Linked DNA regions of Homo sapiens: regions 1, 2, 3, 5, 6 and 7 are each linked to region 4. Evidence: promoter capture Hi-C in 16 types of primary human blood cells and fetal thymus (Javierre and others, 2016). All regions are on one chromosome and are shown on one strand. Each heading gives the region's core, a stretch centred on a gene start or on the middle of the fragment in contact. The rest is flanking DNA. Distances are from core to core; before and after follow the strand shown. Region 1 overlaps IL6ST-DT (IL6ST divergent transcript). Region 2 overlaps IL6ST (interleukin 6 cytokine family signal transducer). Region 3 overlaps IL31RA (interleukin 31 receptor A). Region 4 holds the start of DHX29 (DExH-box helicase 29). Region 5 overlaps IL6ST (interleukin 6 cytokine family signal transducer). Region 6 overlaps IL6ST (interleukin 6 cytokine family signal transducer). Region 7 overlaps IL31RA (interleukin 31 receptor A).

Evidence for each region. The method cuts DNA at HindIII sites, captures the fragments that hold promoters and counts their contacts. A CHiCAGO score of 5 or more calls a contact.
Region 1: a contact is called between a fragment that was not itself captured here and the fragment with the promoter of DHX29 in region 4, in 1 of 17 cell types (fetal thymus). The highest score is 6.2, in fetal thymus.
Region 2: a fragment that was not itself captured here is called in contact with the fragment with the promoter of DHX29 in region 4 in 1 of 17 cell types (fetal thymus); the score reaches 6.3 in fetal thymus.
Region 3: a fragment that was not itself captured here is called in contact with the fragment with the promoter of DHX29 in region 4 in 2 of 17 cell types (endothelial precursors and megakaryocytes); the score reaches 8.8 in endothelial precursors.
Region 5: a contact is called between a fragment that was not itself captured here and the fragment with the promoter of DHX29 in region 4, in 1 of 17 cell types (monocytes). The highest score is 5.0, in monocytes.
Region 6: a fragment that was not itself captured here is called in contact with the fragment with the promoter of DHX29 in region 4 in 1 of 17 cell types (fetal thymus); the score reaches 6.9 in fetal thymus.
Region 7: a fragment that was not itself captured here is called in contact with the fragment with the promoter of DHX29 in region 4 in 1 of 17 cell types (endothelial precursors); the score reaches 5.4 in endothelial precursors.

The regions. Positions count from the first base shown.
Region 1 is chr5:56,001,027-56,003,900 of GRCh38, forward strand. It overlaps IL6ST-DT (IL6ST divergent transcript), which reads left to right. Exons shown (of 2, transcript NR_102755.1): 2 at 723-2,623. Among named protein-coding and RNA genes, the nearest start is that of IL6ST-DT, 7.3 kb to the left of the region's middle. RefSeq lists an enhancer at 2,135-2,429. The HindIII fragment of the contact is 938 bases long and covers 804-1,741 here.
Region 2 is chr5:55,934,909-55,937,772 of GRCh38, forward strand. It overlaps IL6ST (interleukin 6 cytokine family signal transducer), which reads right to left. Exons shown (of 17, transcript NM_002184.4): 17 at 187-2,864. Among named protein-coding and RNA genes, the nearest start is that of IL6ST, 59 kb to the right of the region's middle. The HindIII fragment of the contact is 1,342 bases long and covers 861-2,202 here.
Region 3 is chr5:55,915,179-55,917,956 of GRCh38, forward strand. It overlaps IL31RA (interleukin 31 receptor A), which reads left to right. Exons shown (of 15, transcript NM_139017.7): 15 at 1,466-2,778. The coding sequence ends at 1,942. Among named protein-coding and RNA genes, the nearest start is that of IL31RA, 65 kb to the left of the region's middle. The HindIII fragment of the contact is 5,310 bases long and covers 1-2,778 here.
Region 4 is chr5:55,306,412-55,309,163 of GRCh38, forward strand. It overlaps DHX29 (DExH-box helicase 29), which reads right to left and starts at 1,283. Exons shown (of 27, transcript NM_019030.4): 1 at 976-1,283. The coding sequence starts at 1,162. MTREX (Mtr4 exosome RNA helicase) reads left to right here and starts at 1,578. Exons shown (of 27, transcript NM_015360.5): 1 at 1,578-1,736. The coding sequence starts at 1,603. It overlaps LOC124900979 (a long non-coding RNA gene), which reads right to left. Exons shown (of 2, transcript XR_007058774.1): 2 at 1,738-2,026. RefSeq lists enhancers at 952-1,211, 1,352-1,831. The HindIII fragment of the contact is 7,705 bases long and covers 1-2,752 here.
Region 5 is chr5:55,954,728-55,957,781 of GRCh38, forward strand. It overlaps IL6ST (interleukin 6 cytokine family signal transducer), which reads right to left. Exons shown (of 17, transcript NM_002184.4): 9 at 2,482-2,564; 10 at 1,298-1,508; 11 at 83-265. Among named protein-coding and RNA genes, the nearest start is that of IL6ST, 39 kb to the right of the region's middle. The HindIII fragment of the contact is 4,335 bases long and covers 1-3,054 here.
Region 6 is chr5:55,982,172-55,985,178 of GRCh38, forward strand. It overlaps IL6ST (interleukin 6 cytokine family signal transducer), which reads right to left. Exons shown (of 17, transcript NM_002184.4): 2 at 553-640. Among named protein-coding and RNA genes, the nearest start is that of IL6ST, 11 kb to the right of the region's middle. The HindIII fragment of the contact is 3,957 bases long and covers 1-3,007 here.
Region 7 is chr5:55,892,734-55,895,621 of GRCh38, forward strand. All of the region lies in intron 6 of IL31RA (interleukin 31 receptor A), which reads left to right. Among named protein-coding and RNA genes, the nearest start is that of IL31RA, 43 kb to the left of the region's middle. The HindIII fragment of the contact is 3,126 bases long and covers 3-2,888 here.

The DNA.
Region 1 (2,874 bases), core at 23-2,522, 690 kb after region 4:
CACTGCACTCCAGCCTGGGTGATAGAGCAAGACTCTGTCTCAAAAAAAAAAAAGAAAGAAATAAGCACTGCTCTGTAAAGGTAAACACAGAGGAAGGGATCTAGCTCAGAGATCTCCATACTGTGGACTTCCAGGGATAACCCTGGTCAAATAGCCATGGGCTGGTCAATGATTTTGAGTTACTCTTTGAGAGGGAAGCTTGGCTTCAGAGAAGGAAAGGCCAGTGCAAGACATGTGAGCAGCAGTTAGGTGCATCCTATTCCTAGACACATACATAGGATAAGGAAGTCAGGTATTGGGACTGTAGCTTTGGAATGGACTATACTTGCTTCAGAATATTATCAGGGGGAGTTTGAGAAGCAAGGGCTTTCCTTCGTTGATTCTCCTTTCACCAGTCTTCCTGGAAAGAATATTCTGCAGTTACAAAATAGGTTCCTTGGCTGCCAGTCTGATACTTGTGCTAAAACCAAATAGATGAAAAAGTATCAACATGAATTTTAAAAAATATATTGTGTGAGCTTGTATAGCTAAGAATTCCCAGCCCCCTACATAGGATCTGAAGAAAGATCTAGTACTAATTGTATTAAATAATGGTTTAGGCAAATGTGTATCTGTCTCCTTAAGAGAGGAAGGCAGTCCCTACTGTAAAGTAAAAATGAAATGGATATACTTCCTGAGAGGGCTGGAATTTTCTGATAATTGTCCCCTCTGATTTTTCACAGGATTTACGGAATGGCCATCTTCCATAATTAACAAATAAATAAATGAAATTTAATGTCAGGGTCAAATGAAACTGGAAACAAAGCTTATCTGGTGATATATCAAATTATGAGAGTCATTATTTGGATGTAAGGATATATGACAGATAGACTCTTAGGAGAAATGCTATGACCTCCTGCTTCTTGGTATTCCTTGTGTGATTTCCTCCTCTTGAGTGTGAAGGCATGTATGTCATTGAGTTATATAAGATAGTGCCCATCTTGCTAGTGTCTCTCTCTCTCTTGTGGCTCTGAAAAATCAAGCTGCCTGCCATGTTTGAGCTTTGATATGGAAAGACCCACATGTTAAGGAACTGAGGGCAGACTCTGCCAACAGCTAGCTTTGAAACTGAATCTCCCGGCCAGGCACAGTGGCTCATGCCTTTAATCCCAGCACTTTGGGAGGCCAAGGTGGGTGGATCACAAGGTCAGGAGTTCAAGACCAGCCTGGCCAAGATGGTGAAACCCCATCTCTACTAAAAATACAAAAATTAGCTGGGTGTGGTGGCAGGCACCTGTAATCCCAGCTACCCAGGAGGCTGAGGGAGAGAATTTCTTGAACCCAGGAGGCAGAGGTTGCAGTGAGCTGAGATCACGCCACTGCACTCCAGCCTGGGTGGCAGAGCGAGACTCCATCTCAAAAAAAAAAAAAAAAGAGAGAAAGAAACCAAATCTCTCAGTCCTACAACCTCAAGGAACTGAATTTTGCCAACAAAAGCAGATCCTTCCCCAGTCAAGCCTCAGATGAGACAGCATCCTCAGCTAACAACTTGTTTGCAGCCTCATGAGAACTGAAGCAGAGAACCCAGCTAAACTGTGCCTAGACTCCTGACCACAGAAACTGAGATAATAAATGTGTGTTGTTTTAAGCTGCCAAGTATGTGATAATTTGTTATGTAGTGGAGAACTAATACAACAGGGAAAAGTTAAAAGCTATTCACATAAATATTTATAATGGATACTATTTCTACACATTTAAATCAAGCTTCTCTTACGTTCATAAGAAGATACGAATCTGGAGAAGGAAATTATATCAAGCAGAACGCTGCTCTGGTGTTGTGAAGACGGGATCCCACCATTCTAATGTATTCAATTTATTTATTCAATAAGTTTTGAGCATCAACTATGTTCCAGGCACTGAGATATTAATCTAAGGAAGACACACGTGTTGTCCTCATTGAGGAGCTCAAAAGTCTAATACATAAACCAACAATCATACAAAAATCATAGCCATGTTACAGTGCTATGAGGAAGATGTTAAGAGAATATTCTGGAAGTACTCATACATAAATACTTCAGAAACTGGGCATTATAAGAAGTCAGTTGCCTCTCTCTACTTTCAGTTCTACATTTTTATACCTTGTAGTGGATTTAAAATGGCCACAAATTCTTCAATACTCTTCTATGGAGAGATTTGAGGGCTATTTCCCTTCATCTTGAATTTAGGCAGGCTTGTTCAGGGTCTGGCTTTTAAGAGGAGCTTTCACCTTGGTCTGTGGAAGTCCTGAGTCACTGTGTACAAAGTCCATCTACCTTATTACACCATCTGGAGAGAGCTGAGACTACAGGGAGAGGGGGAGTGGCCCGGCTGATCCCAGTCTTCCTAGTGACCCTGCCCAGGAACTTGGCATGTGAGTAAAGCCATCTTGGAACCTCCATACCAGACCAGCCACGAGATGAATAATACTAACTGATCCCAGTCAATGCCACATAGAGCAGAAGAACTGCCTAACTGAATTCTTTCCAAACTGCTGACTCAAAAATTTGTATGGTATAATAAAATGTTTGTTTTAAGTCACTGTTTTGTTAGGAGTAATAAGCAACCAGAATAAAATTCTAATCTTTATCATGTACCGTGCTGAAAATCTGACCATCTCACTCTCCTTAAAACTCCGTCAATCCCTTCCCATTACCCAAATCCCTCTTGTATGTCATAGAAGTCCCTCATTACGTGACCTCTACCTACTTCTCTGGTCTTGTCTCCTAACATGGCCTCCAACTCCAGGCTCTCATATTACCTATTTGCTAATGGTTCCTGGGCCAGCATCCAACATACTGTTCCCTCCTTCCATGCCAAGAAGAGACAGCTTATTCTGTTTCCTTGGCCGGTCATTGC
Region 2 (2,864 bases), core at 282-2,781, 630 kb after region 4:
AGTAGGCCTGGACTGAGGTATTAGATTTCTAATCAACAGGCTGGTCTCATTCAGAGTTTGAACCAGCACTCTGGGGGAGAAACCACTTGTGGCCGTTGAATTACTCTGGCTAGCCTGTCTCAGAAAGACCATCCACAGCCAGGGCTAATGAGACAGTTGAAGAAAGAGAAATACTTTACCTGAGGGTTTTGGTTTTTTTTTGGCTTTTATTTTTGTGTGTGTGGATTACCACCATATAGCTCACCATGTTATCCCAGAAAGACTACAATTTCATACAGAATGCACAGATGTTTAAATAAAAAGCCATTTAAGTGAGGGGATAATTCTCACTAAAAAAAGCTCAAAAATAAGAAATGACAATTCTAGATACACTTTTTTGACATGTAAAATGACATAACCATAGTCACAGGGAATAAAGAATCAGGTTTGAATGTCCACAGGTTTCTAAAACTAAGCTCTGGCTTCGTATCTGTTGAAAATCTTTAGCGGTTGGGGAAAATAGCTATATTTAAAAACAAATATTGAATTTTGAGTTGAAAGGTACATTTTCCTCCCTTGATGGAGACAGAACTTTTCTATGGAGAACCCAAGCAGCCTTTCCATGATCTTACTAAGTTGTCCAAGAGCCAACCCCGATCAGCAGCAACAGGACTCAAGCTGTTCACCCTGCTTTCGAGTTGGCTGAGCTTCCTGCTGCTTTCACACATTCTTCTTTTTCTACCTCAGTTCCTCTTTGCTTGTAGTCTTTCACTCCATTAACTTGCCCAAGCACTGGACTTAAGTATGGAAGAGCCTATACGCAGTTGTAATATATTTCGTATTTTGAAAGTGTAGAAGTTTGTATTAATTTAAAAAGAAAAAGCTTAAATGGAAAGTTAAGCAATCCTGAACAAGAAAACTCTCTCACTGCCTTTGGGCTAGAGAAAGAGTATGCTCTCAAGGAGTTACATAATCTTTTCCAAAGCAGGATGGACTGTATCTATCATACACATTAGGATAAGATGAGCCACCACACCTTAAAGAAATCAGGCTTGAGCCTATACAAGCCATAACCAAATAGAAGATTTTAAACAAAGGAGCACATAGCCCAAAGCTGACATGTTATTTCTATAAACTCTGGTATATATGTGAAGGAGTTACTGTTGGCTGGCTTGTGGGTTTTTTGACTCACTACATTTTTTTAGACAAAATCACAATGTGAAGGCACATTAATAGTTGAGATTTTCTTTTCCTTCCAGGTGGACTTGCTGACTGATTAGTTTCATATACTACTTAGTAACCTCAAGAAGTAGCAGGAGGATGCCATGTATCAATCTTGAACTTCAAGTCTCACTGCAACAAGGATGGAGACTCCAGCAGAGTGCAGGGTGGGCACAGACAGGCCACAAGATGGCGCAGCACCTCCATACTTGGGCTCTTGACAACCAAGTAGGTTTTTTTTTTTTTTTTTTTTTTTAATGTCCACTAGGAGGGAGGATGCTACGATTTCAGACCTCAGCTATTAAATAGTAAATCTGGAAAACTAGTGGATAAATTTGCCATCTCCATTCTATGTTATTAAGACCAAGATAGTGTACTGGTTTTCTTTTAAATCACATTCCATTATGTCATTTAAAATGTCACAAAACCCACACGAAGCATCTCATTTACACTAAGATGCTTATTTAGCTAACACCACTAATGATAAATGCTGTTACAAATATGCATAGTCAGATGATAGTAACCACATACAGAAAAAAAATTTGAACAAGTATTTATTTCTTAAAATTTACTTAAGGGATTAGAGCTAATATATAATAGAACATTTAATATAACATTTGGAGTTATGTCAACATAAAAATAGCTGTGGTTACAATTAGCACATGCAATTCACTGCAAAGGTAAAAATACATGCTATACTCTAGACAAGCCTTCCAAATGAAGTTAGAGTAGATGGGGTAAAACAGCAAGTGAACATGAAAGGATTGCACTTAGAAGAAAGTGGGACATAGCTAGGATATAAAAGAAACATACCTAATGCTAGTCAGTCACTGCATTGTCCTACTAGCAAATTGCACATTTATTTTTAGAGTATATTCAATACACATACATATTGAGACTAGAGAATTTTCAAATATCTACCTTTGAAATATCCCTTTGTTTCTAACACATCACATTATGGTATTAATGTAACAGCACTTAAAACCTGTAGTTATCATTCAAAGCTTGTGTTCAAGAGATAAAAGAACATCATTCAGACAAAGCCTGTGTTCAAGAAATAAAAAAAACATCTATCACTATCGGCCTTAAATGCATCTCATCACACGACCCATCAACTTTAATGAAATGGGTAATGAAGTTAAACTAACCAGTTTGTACAAACTATTGACTGAGAAAAAGCCCTTAAAAATTTAGGAACAAATGAGCAACAGAAGAGCTCACCCTGAGCTGCCACCTTTTAATTTTTAATGCAATGTATATGAGAATATCATGCTAATGCACATACTAGTAGCATGTATGATGGAAAAAAATAGGTTAATGCAAAAGATAATACGCTTGGCTTTGTAAAGTTTTGTTTTGACTTACATCATCTGAATTCTGTTTATCGAGTCTGAAAAGGAACTGCTGCCAAGGACCAGTCCAAAGAAGAATTAGGCTGTAAGACTGCTAGTTCATACCTTCTTTGAAATCAATGACAATGTCCAATTTTAGGCTAATCCTAAAACACTTGCCATTTTATGACTCCATATTCTTTTAATTTACAGAAAAGTACAAATTTTTTAGAAAGTAATCTTATCAGCACAATATAATCTAACAATACCTGTAATAGAAAGCTATCCCAGTAAATTTTTTTTGAACAATTGAACTTTTGTCTTATGCAGCTT
Region 3 (2,778 bases), core at 238-2,737, 610 kb after region 4:
CTGGTCCCATAAAGGATGCTGCAGAATAAAGACACTGGCCCTACCCTTCCTGACCTGATGGGCTAATTAGAGAGAGAGGAGCCTTGGCTATAGGATTTGAAGCCATTTACAAAGCAGCCAAGAGCACATTAATCTAAAGACTGTCTAAATATCACCAGGGAATGTTGATGGGCATGGCAGTCTGAGGCTGCCTCAGGTTGTTTTTCTCAGGCTGGGGACGTCAGAGTCAGGCTTTATTTAACTGGCATTGGGGTTTTCTAGTGAGTATTCCTTAACTAGAAACCCTCCATTTGCATAAATTTTTAAGTGGAAAACCGTTAGGGAAATTTTAAGGTTTAATTTCTTGCTTACGTAGAAACAAGCCCAATCAAATATAACCTTTAAATCCTTGTTACTGAAAGGCTGTTTCCAGTTTTTCCTTGATGCACAAATTTTAAATATTAGTCCTCGTTCCCACTCAGAAGTCTTTTTTGAGCATGGGCCTTTTGTTATAATGGGCTTTCTTTCTGTTTCCTCCTCTTATCAGTCCGGTATACTGGACTGATTTATACCCCCATTTACTTTCCTGCTTATTAAATGTCATTTAGAGAGTAAATGGATTCATAGGCAGTGCTCTCTGATAACTAACATGCTTTTTGAATAATCCGTAGGTTGGACCTCTAGAGCCGGCACTTATTAATCACTCACTACATGCCAGGTGCTGGGCTAGGCCCTAGGGATACAAATGACAAAGTCACTGTCCCTGCCATGAGGCCACTTCTGATTTTCTGGTGAGGTTGAACAAGTCTGTCTCTATGATGTGGTTTTTCCATCCCTAAGAGTTCTAATTTTAGTTCTTCCATCTTAACTGGGGTTTTGTGAACATGGGATTGTGTGGAAAATAGCCTTGCACACTCTAGCAGAAGAAATTGTTTGAATTGGCTGGGTACAGCGGCTCATGCCTATAATCCCAGCATTTTGGGAGGCCAAGGCAGGGGGGATTGCTTGAGCTCAGGAGTTTAAGACCAGCCTGGGTAACATGACAAAACCCCATCTCTACAAAAAATTAAAAAGTAGCCAGGTATGGTGGTGTGCATCTGTAGCCCCTGCTACTCAGGAAGCTGAGGGGGAAGAATTACCTGAGGCTGAGAAGTTGAGGCTGCAGTGAGTGGTGATCATGCTACTGTACTCCAGCCTGGGCAACGGGAGTGAGACCCTGTCTCAAAAAAAAAAAAATTATATACATATAAATAAATAAATTTTAAAAATTGTTTGAATCCAGGGCACTGTTTCTCAGGAAATGTGCCACTCCTTCCAAGCTCTGTGGAAGGGCATGCAGAGAGGGTTGGCTACCACTTCTGGGCCTGGGAGGAAGGTGGGGGCTGTTCCAGAGATGGGCATTTGCTGTCCCAAGCCTAACGAGTTTTTGGCTATGTCATATGTGACTCCTAAATGACCACTTGGGATGTCCCTTTTTCTTTTCCAGGATAAGCTAAACCTGAAGGAGTCTGATGACTCTGTGAACACAGAAGACAGGATCTTAAAACCATGTTCCACCCCCAGTGACAAGTTGGTGATTGACAAGTTGGTGGTGAACTTTGGGAATGTTCTGCAAGAAATTTTCACAGATGAAGCCAGAACGGGTCAGGAAAACAATTTAGGAGGGGAAAAGAATGGGTATGTGACCTGCCCCTTCAGGCCTGATTGTCCCCTGGGGAAAAGTTTTGAGGAGCTCCCAGTTTCACCTGAGATTCCGCCCAGAAAATCCCAATACCTACGTTCGAGGATGCCAGAGGGGACCCGCCCAGAAGCCAAAGAGCAGCTTCTCTTTTCTGGTCAAAGTTTAGTACCAGATCATCTGTGTGAGGAAGGAGCCCCAAATCCATATTTGAAAAATTCAGTGACAGCCAGGGAATTTCTTGTGTCTGAAAAACTTCCAGAGCACACCAAGGGAGAAGTCTAAATGCGACCATAGCATGAGACCCTCGGGGCCTCAGTGTGGATGGCCCTTGCCAGAGAAGATGTCAAGACTCGGCACGCAGCGCTTGCTTGGCCCTGCCACATCCTGCCTAGGTTAAAGTTTCCCCTGCCCCTTGAGCTGCCAGTTGAACTTGGTCGGCAAAGATGCGACCTTGTACTGGGAAGAAGGGATGGTGATAAGCCCGAGTTTTGTAAAGGAACAGCAGTCTCTTTTCGTTTGTTCAGATACCAAGCTCTCACCGAGGCCTCCTGACAGATTGACTTTGAAGGAAGGGCCCAGGTTCTGAGCCCAAAGGACCCCCAGGGTGGACATATCTGGCCTCCCAGGAATTGGGTCATGGTCCCAGCCTTTGCTGGGGCTGAGCCTCAGAGTTCCAGAAGGCCTTTCCCTGCTGCCAGAGGACAGTTGTTTTGTTGGCTCTTGGGTGGTCTGGTGGGAGCCTGGGCTCTGGTCTTCCCCTACAAGGTAGCCCTGAAGCCTTCCTCTCTCCCCATAGTTGGGGCTGGAGGTGGAGTGGACCTTCCTAAGGGGTTGTCTGAGGCTCCTCACATCCTCTTAGATCTCAAGTGCCTGTAGCAACACCGCACCTGAGAATCCTCACCCCCAATTTAGACTGCATTGACTACTAAAAAATCAAGGAATGGGGAGGGCCCTGGGGAATGTATGCTGCCGGGCGCAGCTCTGTCCAGTCTCCAGGGGGCCACTTCCCAGCTGCTGCTGCCCTTCTATTCAGCACCCAGCCTGGGAGCAGAAAGGCACCTGACATTGCAGTGGTTGTCATATAGGGACGCTGGCCCCTCACACTGGTTCAGAGCCCA
Region 4 (2,752 bases), core at 33-2,532:
TTTCCAGACACCATCCATGATACCTGCTCATCCCGAGAAAAATTAGATTACCCTGTTAAACTGTCTTCCCTGGCTTTTCTTTGTGGCACTTATCTATTATAAGGCTATAAATATGTCTGTGTGCGTTACCTATTAGTTAATACCTATCTCTGACATTAGACTGGCAAGCTCCATGAGGTGATGTCTCTTTTTGCTCATCACATTCCTCACATCTTATCAGACACATACTAAATATTTGCATATATACACATAAATGCTCAGCAAATATTTCTTGAATACTCCAATAAGTACAAGCAAACAACCCGAGAAGAACACAACAGAATGTAATTGTTCATCTTTTGAGCTCAACCGTAATATGTGGCCTGCTCATCTGCAGCAGGAATCGGCCATCTATAAGTTGAGTTGTCAAATCAATTTGTACAGTAAGCAAAACTGCATGGCGGCAGAAACGAGGGCAGACAATTTTACAATAGATTACACGTAACCAGTGTGTAACCAGTGTGTAAGTCCTGTAATTTTTATTAAGTATTGATTTTTCCAGAACGCATGGAGACACTAGATTGTTGCTGAAAATGATATGAAAAACTGACAGAAAATGGGGCTGGCTGGCACCAGGAGGTCAGGAACTCCACTCAGTACTCGTCTTTGCGTTAGCCTAGCTAGCTGAGATGGTGCTCAGGATGAATTCCTGCTGAAACAGGAGCTAATGCAATTATTTTGTTTTTAGAAGGGGGAGAAGTGTGAGTTAAAAGAGAAATGCCAGGCTGCAACAGGGCTACTGTCAGAATTTTGGAGGCCCAAAGAGCTTAGACTTTTTTAATCTAAAACAAGGCCACCCCATGGGGAGGTAGCAGCTCGAGTGTTGGGAAATAGAAATGTTGGGCCCGAAGCTCCTCCCGGGTTCTAAGGCCCTTTCCTCAGGACAAGCAGCAAGGTCTCAGGGCAGACAGCCAGGGGCTGGGGGACCTCTCGTACCTTGCTTGACACGGGGCTCCCTGGAGCCGGCAGCGGCAGCGGCAGCGGTGGCCGGCCTGGACACTGGCTTCTTGCTTTGGGCCTCCCCGGCAATTCCAGCCTCGGCAGATTTGGCTCTGGAAGCAGACACGGCGGCCCGGACCACCGCGGCCGCTGGAGCCTTGTGTTTCTTGTTCTTGCCGCCCATGTTGCAGCTGTGGCAGAAGATCCTTCGCGGCCCAGGCCCCGACGGTACCACTGCACAGCCGAGAGCTCTTCACATTCCCCGGCTCCGGGGCTGCCACCCTGCGCTTCGATCCGGGCTTCTCGGGCCGGGGCGACCGCTGCCTCGCAATTGGTCGAATTCAGCAGGCTCCGCCTCCTTGAGTCGCCAGCTGCCTGCCACACGCCAGGCGCCACGCGCCGCCCTCGCTCTTTATCCACTGAGCAGCTTATCCACTTTAGGTCGGAAAGGAAAGGAAAGAAAAGCAGGAAAAAAAAAAAAAGTCAGGGGAACATTTTTGTCGGCTGCGCGACTCGACTACTTTTGTCTCCTGCGGGCCACTGTTGAGCCTTCACGAGACGTCACTGTCTTCGGTCGCGGGGCATCGTGGGTAGGAGGGAGATTTGCTCTCACTGCTCCCAAAAATGGCGGACGCATTCGGAGATGAGCTGTTCAGCGTGTTCGAGGGCGACTCGACCACTGCGGCGGGAACCAAAAAAGACAAGGAAAAGGACAAGGGGAAATGGAAGGGGCCTCCAGGGTCTGCAGACAAGGCAGGGTAAGGAAGAAGTTCCAGTTGTTGCTTTTATTTTTTTTCTCGGTGGGGAGGAAGAAAACACTACTCTCTTAGGAAGAGCACGAGAAAGTGAAGTGTACATTGAGTGGCGTTGGAAGTGAAGGGGTTCCAGAAAAAAGTTGGAGAGGGTGGAAGAATGTTGGTTCGTGGAAGGGGGGTCTTGGCGTTTCCTGGTGTCTGCAGGCAGCGTGATCTTCTGCTTCAATTCCCTTACGTCGATGTTACTGATTCTGTCCCCATCTTCGCGGTTGTCTCCTGCATCAGCACAACACCTGGCACATAGTCGTTAATAAACAAAACGAATGATTAGTTGAGTAAAAGGTGAAAAGGTTTAGAAAAAATGATATGAATTGATTTGGAGGGGAAAGGGCAGATAATAACATGAGAAGGGAGAGACATTTAATCTCCAAGATGTAGTAGTTTTCTCTTCCGTAAAATGGAGATAATAGTGCCTACCACTGGTGGATATGAGGATTCAATGAGATACACGTGTAAAGTGCCTAACAGTGGTTAGCTAGCTATCACTAATAAATGGTAGCTATCGTGAGTTTATTGAGAAAAAATTTAAAAATTACTGGACCCTACCCATATGTTTAGACTGGTGCATACAGCCACCAGAAAGTGTACAGATCTGTTTATAGTAGAACAAGGAAAAGCTATTACTTGTATTAAATAAAGTAAGATGATTAATTAACAATCAACAAAATATACTCTTGGCATTGTGGGGCCAGATACCCAATAGATGCTTGAAATTAAATTAGACATGATTTTGCTCTCAAGGAATTTTCGGTGTAGGGAAAGAGAACAGGTACCCATTAAAGAGTTACAGTATAGGTGAGGAGGTCGTTAACTTAAAATGAATGATATATACAATTAAGTGTTATAAAAGTTCAAGAAAGGGAGATCCTATTTCTGACTTTCAGGAAGGCTTATTTATATACAAGAGAATATTCTGAGTTAAGGAAATTGTGTTGTTAATGGTGCCAAGTTTGTTTGTT
Region 5 (3,054 bases), core at 280-2,779, 650 kb after region 4:
CCAAAACACTATAAGCAAAAGAAAAAGCTGCCTAAAGAGTTAGAAAAAGGATATCAATTTAGATGTTTCTAGCCAGGTATACCTCTTAAATAGGTGCGATGCACGGTACCATCTTCTTGTTGCCAGTCTGTGATACAGGGTGCTTTATCTGATAACACACACCACTCAAGTATATATTTCTTTACAGATTCCCTTGGAGTAGTCCATTCCACCCAAAGCATGTTATCTTTGGGGAATGCTTTAAGATCCATTACAGGGTGAGTAGCTTTAAAACAAAGTTTGAATATTGAAATAATAAATATTAACAAATTTGAAATTTCCATATTTTACAGTCATTTCCAAAACATGTGATTTATCAATTTTTGTAGCATATACTTCCTTGCCTAAAAGCACTTTATTATAACTTACAGGTAAAGTAGTCAATTTTTAAACTTAGATTTTGCTTCCCCGCTGGGCACTGTGGCTCATTCCTGTAATTCCAACATTTTACGAGGCCAAGGCAGGTGGATCACTTGACATCAGGAGTTCGAAACCAGCCTGGCCAACACGGTGAAACCCCGTCTCTACTAAAAATACAAAATTAGCCAGGCATTGTGGTGCGTGCCTTTAATTCCAGCTACTTGGGAGGCTGGTGCACAAGAATCGCTTGAAGCCAGGAGGCAGAGGCTGAGATCGTGCCATTGCACTCCAGCCTAGGCGACAGAGCAAGACTGTCTCAAAAAGAAAAAAAAAAATTTGCTTTCCCTAAATTCTTCAAATGCTTTCGGTTTGTAATTGCAATTTTTCTTCTTTGAAAGCTACGAATAAAGCTACAGATAAACGTTTCAGTCATATGTATACAAAGTTCTCAAAATCTTGAAATAATATTTTAAAAACCAGGTAAGTAATCAGAATATGCTTAAATGAATGAAGTAGCTTACTGTGAAGTTTAAGTGAGCATGTAGTGATGGAAATGTTCTTGCATCCTGATGAAATTTGTCTGCTGACTGATTCCTAAAAATGCGATCACTAGCTGGGTTTGGTGGCATATGCCTGTTAATCCCAGCACTTTGGGAGGCCAGGGGAGATCGCTTGAGCTCAGGAGTTCGAGACCAGCCTGAGCAACCTGGCGAGACCCAGTCTCTGAAAAAAAGAAAATCATTATTTATAAAATTTAAAAAATTAAAAAATAAACAAGTGATTATCCCTGATACTGAGGAGACAGTCTTAGATAACTTGTGTTTTTTATGGGAGCCCTGTCCATACCTAACCACCATTTTTCCACCCAAGAGTCAGGCTCCATCTCACAGATACAAACCTTGAAAGTCACAGGCAGGGATAGTTAAAACAGCTGCATCTGATTTGCCAACAAGATTTCTTACTGTTAGGGTTGCTAGATAGCGATCATTTGTGAGATTTACTGTCAGTTTTGTGGCATTAACTGTGTAATTTTGTAAATGTGATTTCCATCTTGTGAGAGTCACTTCATAATCCAAGATTTTTCCATTGGCTTCAAAAGGAGGCAATGTCTGTAATAAAATAGTTTATTTTTAAAAATAATCTCATAAATCTTGAATAAAAAATCAGTTTTTCTTCATATTCACAAATCATGCCATTATGTCAAATCTCTAAATATTTAACTGGAAAGGATTCACAATCTCCATTTTAAATTTGGTTCTAAAATAAAACTAGTACATACTAAATGAAGAGTAAAAGCATGACCTCAACTAAAAAAGGGTAAGTAGCATCATTCCGTTAGCTTTTGGTTCTGTATCAATTCTGCACTGTGGCTATGTAGGTCTAAATTATTTATTTTATGCTTGAGTATTTTTCTACCTTCTTTTTTAGTATGATCTACTCATGCACTTACCAGCATACATTTTGATTATCACAAACTTTTATTATTTTCTGAGTTACTCTGGAAAATTCCAAAGTACAAAAACAACATTCCTCTTCTTATAGAACTTATACTTTCACAGAACTGTACTTAAATACCTATAAGGTATTATTTGTAGTTTATGAACCTGACTTCTATATAATATTAATACATATAAAGCATTACCTTTCTATTTAGTAAAAATAGTAATCAAATGCTTTGCTATTAAAATGAATAAAAATTTATCTATTTAAAAGACCTCCATTCATAATACCATACAAAATGTATTTATAAGGGCTGGGCGCGGTGGCTCATGCCTGTAATCCCAGTACTTTGGGAGGCCGAGGCAGGCAGAACATGAGGTCAAGAGATCAAGATCATCCTGGCCACCGTGGTGAAACCCTGTCTCTGCTAAAAATACAAAAATTAGCGGGGCGTGGTGGCGCACACCTGTAGTCCCAGCTACTCAGGAGGCTGAGGCAGGAGAATCACTTGAACCTGGGAGGCAGAGGTTGCAGTGAGCCAAGATCACGCCACTACACTCCTGCCTGGCAATGGAGCGAGACTCGGTTTCAAAAAAAAAAAAAAAGATTTATAAGAGATAAAATATAAATGTGATTTTTTACCTTCCACACGAGTTGTACAGTTCTGTAGCCTTGAGTATGGGATGGATCTATTTTATACCAGAAACTTGGTGCTTTAGATGGTCCTAAAGAAAAGACATAAACTCCTTAAAATAAAAAGGTTTTAACAGTAAAATAAAATTCTGCAAATTATTCTTTTACTTTGTTCTTAATACTCTTGCCCTCCAATTGCATGGTGTCTCTACCTCTTTATACCAGCATTTTCCCAACCCAGCACAAAACACCTGGCTCTTCCTTTAGTCAGGGTGATAGCCTGATCAATTATACTGGAACTCTTTTCTAACCTCAAAATTGTAAAGGTAAAAATGTATTCTGAGCAACAACTAAAGAGGCATCACTCTTTCTTATAACTTCATGTTCTTTATTCTGTTTGTGTGCTGGCACTGTATTTATCTACTTGAATCTCCTGTACCAGCAGCCTTTTCCCAGCCTTCCTGGTCTGCCTGTCCTCACTTCTGTTTTGTCATCTGTAATTGCCTCTTCATGATCAACACATCACTGCTTAGATTTTATTCAACTCCTCTCTTATTCTATTAAATACCAGGTCTTCTAATT
Region 6 (3,007 bases), core at 400-2,899, 680 kb after region 4:
TTTTGTCACCTATGGATTGTGATTTTTTTTTCATTTTCTAACTTAACCTAAGGATGAAATAAAAAGCACGAATATATTTAGATTTACATTGCATGTGAAAAAGAATGTCAATATAAACTTTGTTACTATGGTAACATTACTATTACAATTGTAGAACAGTATATGAACTAAAATTGCCAAATAGAAGGCAAAATAATGCTTGTTGAATTAATAAGTTGCGTGGGGATCAAGATGAAGAAAATTTCTATATATCTTTCACAGTACAGTGTTACTGTGAATAAACTGCCAGAAGTTGGTAATACCTACACAAAATTAACTAATTATTAAATTAGTTTTTAAATTATCCACTCTGTTCTCTTCCATTAGTATCAATTATGAGTTCATAACAATTAACACTAGGATATTATTTTACATTACACAAAATGTTGTCACATAAATTATTTCACTTTAGTCTCCTAATATCCTAAAGAATCAGGTGAGTAGGGCAGGGATTATTTATTGGAACTTTGTAAAATAAAAAAACAAAAAATTCAGACAAGATCAATTACTTACCCAAATCACAAAATTAGTAAGTGAAGGAGTAGGGATTTGAAGCTAAGTCTTCTACTTCTAAATGTCATGCTTTTTCCATTGGGTTTCACTGTAAAGAGAGGAGAGTCTTGTTCAGAAGGCTGGCTTTGATAATTTTATTATATGTGTACTTTAAAAATCCCCATCTGCTCTTAGGCTTTTGGGTTTGCAGAAAGTATCCTACTTTAGATATGTTCTGAGCTTCAGAATAAAATAAACCCATAAACACTTGTATAAGAGTATTCAAATATTCTAGTGCTTTTTTTTTTTTTTTTTGAGACAATGTCTCACTCCCATCACCAGGCTGCAGTGCAGTAGCACAATTACAGCTCACTGCAGCTTGAACTTCCCAGGCTCAGGTAATTCTCCCACCTCAGCCTCCCGAGTAGCTGGGACTAGAGATGGCACCATCATGCCTAGCTAATTTTTTTATTTTTAGTACAGATAGTGTTTTGCCATGTTGCCCAGGCTGAGCTCAAAGGGATCTGCCCACCTCAGACTCCCAAAGTGTTGGGATTACAGGCATGAGCCACCGCGCCCAGCCCTAGTGCTATGATTTGATATACGCTTGCAAACATTATTGGCTCACCCACACCTAATGCAAACTTCCCTGACGTCTATGTAATGTCACAGAAACATGACAGGAACATTTATGACAGACGGAGTTCTTTAACAATCACATATTTCTTCTTCTACTAGCACTAAATTAAGCCTGCTAACAACTATTCTATGTAACCAGAGATAAAAATCCATTTTAAGATTTGTTCACTTAAATTCTAGCTTAAGTACTAGTGCTCCTCTTTGAAATACAACAAGTAACTTCAAACTTAGGCAAGGAGTTGAATCTTCCATTATTGTTTCATACACATTAAGCCTTTGATATAACTTAATAACACATAAGGAATTAAATTTATAAAAATATTTTTTAAATGTCTAATGAAAAGAAACTGAAAAAATGCCATGTGAAAGTGCACTATAATCCCACCAAGAGATAACTACCATGAACATTTTGGTGGATATTCTTGCAAAATTTTTTATACATGTATTATATAACTTTACATTGTATAAATATACACACTTTTCTATTTTACAAAGATGGGATCATGTAAGTGAGAAATGTTTTATAACCTTTTTCACTTAACACTACATAGTGGACATCTTCATAAGTTAATATATAGAGAGTAATTCCTTGTAGCCTTTGCTCAAATTCACCTCCTCATAGAGATCTTCCCTAACCACCCTGTGTTTCTTATACCCCTTTACTGATTTTTTTTTTTTCTACAACACTTAACACCTTCTAAAATAGGCTAGCAAACATTTTCTGTAAAGGGCCAGATAATAAATATTTTAGATTTCGTGGGCTTTAAGTTCTCTCTTGCAATTAGTTAACTCCGTTATTAAAGTGCAAAAGCAGCCATACACAATATGTAAATAAGTGGGCATAGGTATATTCCCATGCAACTTTATTTATAAAAATGGCTGCAAGCTGGATTTGGCTTATGGGCTATAGTTTGCCAACCCCTGTTCTAAATACAATATAATTAAATTAATTTTCTTTTTGTTTGTTATGGGCTGAACTGTTCCCCCCAAAAAATATGTTGAAGTCTTAACCCCAGTAGCACAAAATGTTACTCTATGGGCAGATTTAATTGGATGTTATAGTGGAGTATAATAGGCCTTTAGTACAATATGACTGGTGTCTTTAAAGAGACAGAGCCAGGAAGAATACCATGTGAATACACAGGCAGAGATTGGAGTTATGCAGCTGTAAGCTAAGGAATCTCAACGACGATGGCTACCACCAGAAGCTAGGAGAGGCAAAGGAAGATTCTATCCAAAGTCTCAAAAGGACTTCTAGCCTCCAAAACCTTGAGAGAATAAATTTGTTGTTTTGAGCCACCCAATTTGTGGTACAGGTTGAACATCCCAAATCTAAAAACTGAAATGCTCTAATTCCAAAACGTTTTGAGCTCTGGCATTTTGGATTTCAGATTTTAGGATTTGGGATGCTTAACTTTAAGTATATAATGCAAATACAACACAAACTGAAAAAAAAAAATCCAAAATCCAATATACTTCTGTTACTAAGTATTTCAGGTAAGGGATACTGTAACAAAGGGATGCTCTATTACAGTAGCCCCTAGGAAACTAACACATAGTGTGTGTCCCCAAAATAGAAGGTAAGTGAAGAGTGGAATGGCTAGGCCCTACGGCAGGTGTGTGCTTGGCTATATCTTCTTTGATGATGTGTCTGTTCAAACATATTGATCAACTGGGTTTCCTGTTTTCTCATTAAGTTTTGAAAGTTCTAAGAAGATATTCTGGCCTTTATTAGAAAATGGATTTACGCATTATTTTCTTGTATGCTTGTCTTTTCATTCTTTTAACAGTATCTTTTGACGAATAGGAGGTTTAATTTTAATAAAGTTCAATTCAT
Region 7 (2,888 bases), core at 316-2,815, 590 kb after region 4:
CAAGCTTATCACAGACCAGCCAGTCCCTCGTGTCAGTTTTCTCAGCTTGTTTTGCTGCCAGAAAAAAGATTTGCTATTTCATCTGATTTATTAGTTCAGCTAGCTTGATTTAATTAGCAAACACTTATTTATCAAAGTCACCACTAGAGAACTTTTGCTTTTGTCCTTCTTCATTTTTTCAGGATCCCAGAAGAAACTGATTAAAATGCACCCCCCAGCCAATCCTCATTTCTTGTTTTCAAATTTATAAAGCGTGTGTTTTCCTATTTCAATGAAATGCCATTTGTTTAATGCGTACCACTTCAAACCTCTCTAATTGTTTCAAAACATGTATTCTAAGTTGAATGTGAAGCACTGCCTATTTTATTTTGGATTTCAATATATTGATTATTAGAGTTACTTACCTATATTTAGGCATTTAAATATCTACTCACTACATGATACAGAAATAATTTGATTCAAATCCTGGCTTTATTTCTTAAACGCTTATGATATTGAATACCTGCTTAATTTCTCTGTGCTTCAGAAATGATGATTAGTAACATTATTGCTGTATCTGATTACAGGGCTGTGGGCATTAAATGAGAAAATTCAGAGAAACTGACACTTGCTAAGAGCTAGCTTGTATTATTGTTGGTCTCTAGCAGGGGCACCTGCACATGTCTAACTGCTGCTGGTTGTGGGGATGCCCATACTGTCATAGAAATGGTATAGCATCAATTGTTGCTGCATCAGTCCAGACAATTGATGCCTTTGAATATGTAGACATTTTGGTTGATTTGGAAAATTTTAATTTTTTTTTCAGAGTCCTTACATTTCCCCCTTTGATTAAACTGAAAATCCATGATCAATTTACGGTTAATGGAAAGCTGGCTATAATAACTATAGAAGACTTACATGGTAGTGAGGCAGCAGTTTCACTAACAGCTGCATCTGTGGGAAGTCTATACTGAGAAGACTGTCTCTCTTTGGACCATATTTGCAGGAAATAGTGGCCTCAATGAAAGAAGAAAATATCAATTTAAACTCATTTATTATTACCATCTACAAAAACAAAATGGCTGCCTATGAGATAATTTTTTTTTTTTTTTTTTTTGAGACGGGGTCTCACTCTGTCACCCAGACTGAAATGTAGTGGTGAGATCTCAGCTCACTGCAGCCTCCGCCTCCCAGGCTCAAGTGATCCTCCCACCTCAGCCTCCCGAATAGCTGGGACTACAGGTGTGTGCCACCATGCCTGGCTGCCTATGGGCTAAATCCAAGAAGAATTTCACTCATATTTCTAGTCAAGTGCCTGGAATGATTATTTAATAATCAGTTTAGCTTTGCCTGTATCTATCCTTGAGATGAATATTTAGGACTGGGTAGTAATGAACACCTTGTCTTTAGATTTTTTTTTTTTTCTTACTCTCAATATTACTGGCCTTAAGTTTGACTCTCCACATGATTGGAACAGAGAGATTCTGCACGTGAGAGATGGAGTAAAGGTCCCTCTAATCCTGCGGGTTTCCTTGGAAGGTCTAATGACTTTGTAGTCCTGTACAAAGGCTGTCTTCTGGGAGGAACTTGGCCACTGCTTACATCTCACTGGCTTGTAGACAGGGTGAAACCAGCCTGTTGCTTCCTGTCTGAGAAATTTGAGTACCGGCTGTCCTGTCTTATGATTCAATAAAAGCCTTTGAGAAATCAGAAAACTCATGGCAGAGCTTTTGAGACAACACCTCAGTGGGATTCAGATGAAATAATATGTAAAGTCAACACAGTTCAATATCCTTATAAGCAATTCTAATGGAATTGCATTTATCTCATTGGGAGATCCTGGGCCTAACAGCTAGACTGTGTTAACTAGACTTTGGCTTCTGCAAGAGTAGTTGTAGAAGTGTGACTCTCCATTAAAGGCAAAACAAGTTATTAACTCAATTGTACTTGGTACATTTTCCTCATTATAAGGTTGTCTTTAGCTGGAGTTCAGTTATTTTACTTTTTTAAAAACAATTCTTTTGAGACACGACTCGCTCTGTTTCCCAGGCTGGAATGCAATGGCGCGATCTCAGCTCACCACAATCTCCGCTTCCCGGGTTCAAGCGATTCTCCTGCCTCAGCCTCCCGTGTAGCTGGGATTACAGGCACACACCACCACACCCAGCTAATTTTTTATATGTTTTGGTAGAGACAGGGTTTCACCATTGGCCAGGCTGGTCTCGAACTCCTGACCTCAAGTGATCCACCTGCCTCGGCCTCCCAAAGTGCTGGGATTACAGGCATGAGCCACCGTGCCCAGCCAGTAATTTTACTTTAAGATATCCAATCACCTACAGTTTAAAAGATCCCTGAAGACAATCTCTTACTTCTAAAAAATAGTTTAGATATTGGTCTGAGTGGTAGACTCATTCTTTGTGGACCTAATTACATTATCTCCAGCCATGCTACTTCCTCAAGAAAAAATTCAGAGTGCAACTACTGCAGCTTTGACTAGGGACATTTACTCTCTTCTCCAAATCGTGGGCCGCTAGCCGTCTCGACATTTGTTTAGAACTCTCTGCTTTCCTCTCATGGCTAAGGTGGGTGGGTCGTTCTCTAATCAGTAGCTCAGCATTTTGATATTTCAGGTGCATGTCAGGGCATTCAACTATAAATTGCCAGTGAGCCATCTCCTGACAAAACTTGCTTGAGACAGGATATTTGAGAGATACAGTCCAGAAATCAAGTGAAATGTAAATTCCTTGTTTTTTGTTTCATCCCTATATGGTTAGATCATCAGAAGCCTGTACACTTGGACTATTGTCTCAGACTGTGTTGTTTACTGGAAAAAGGCATGTGTCAGGATTTATGCCCTGGCTATTTATAGAAAACAGCTATGAAAAATGCACATATATGATATTTCTGTG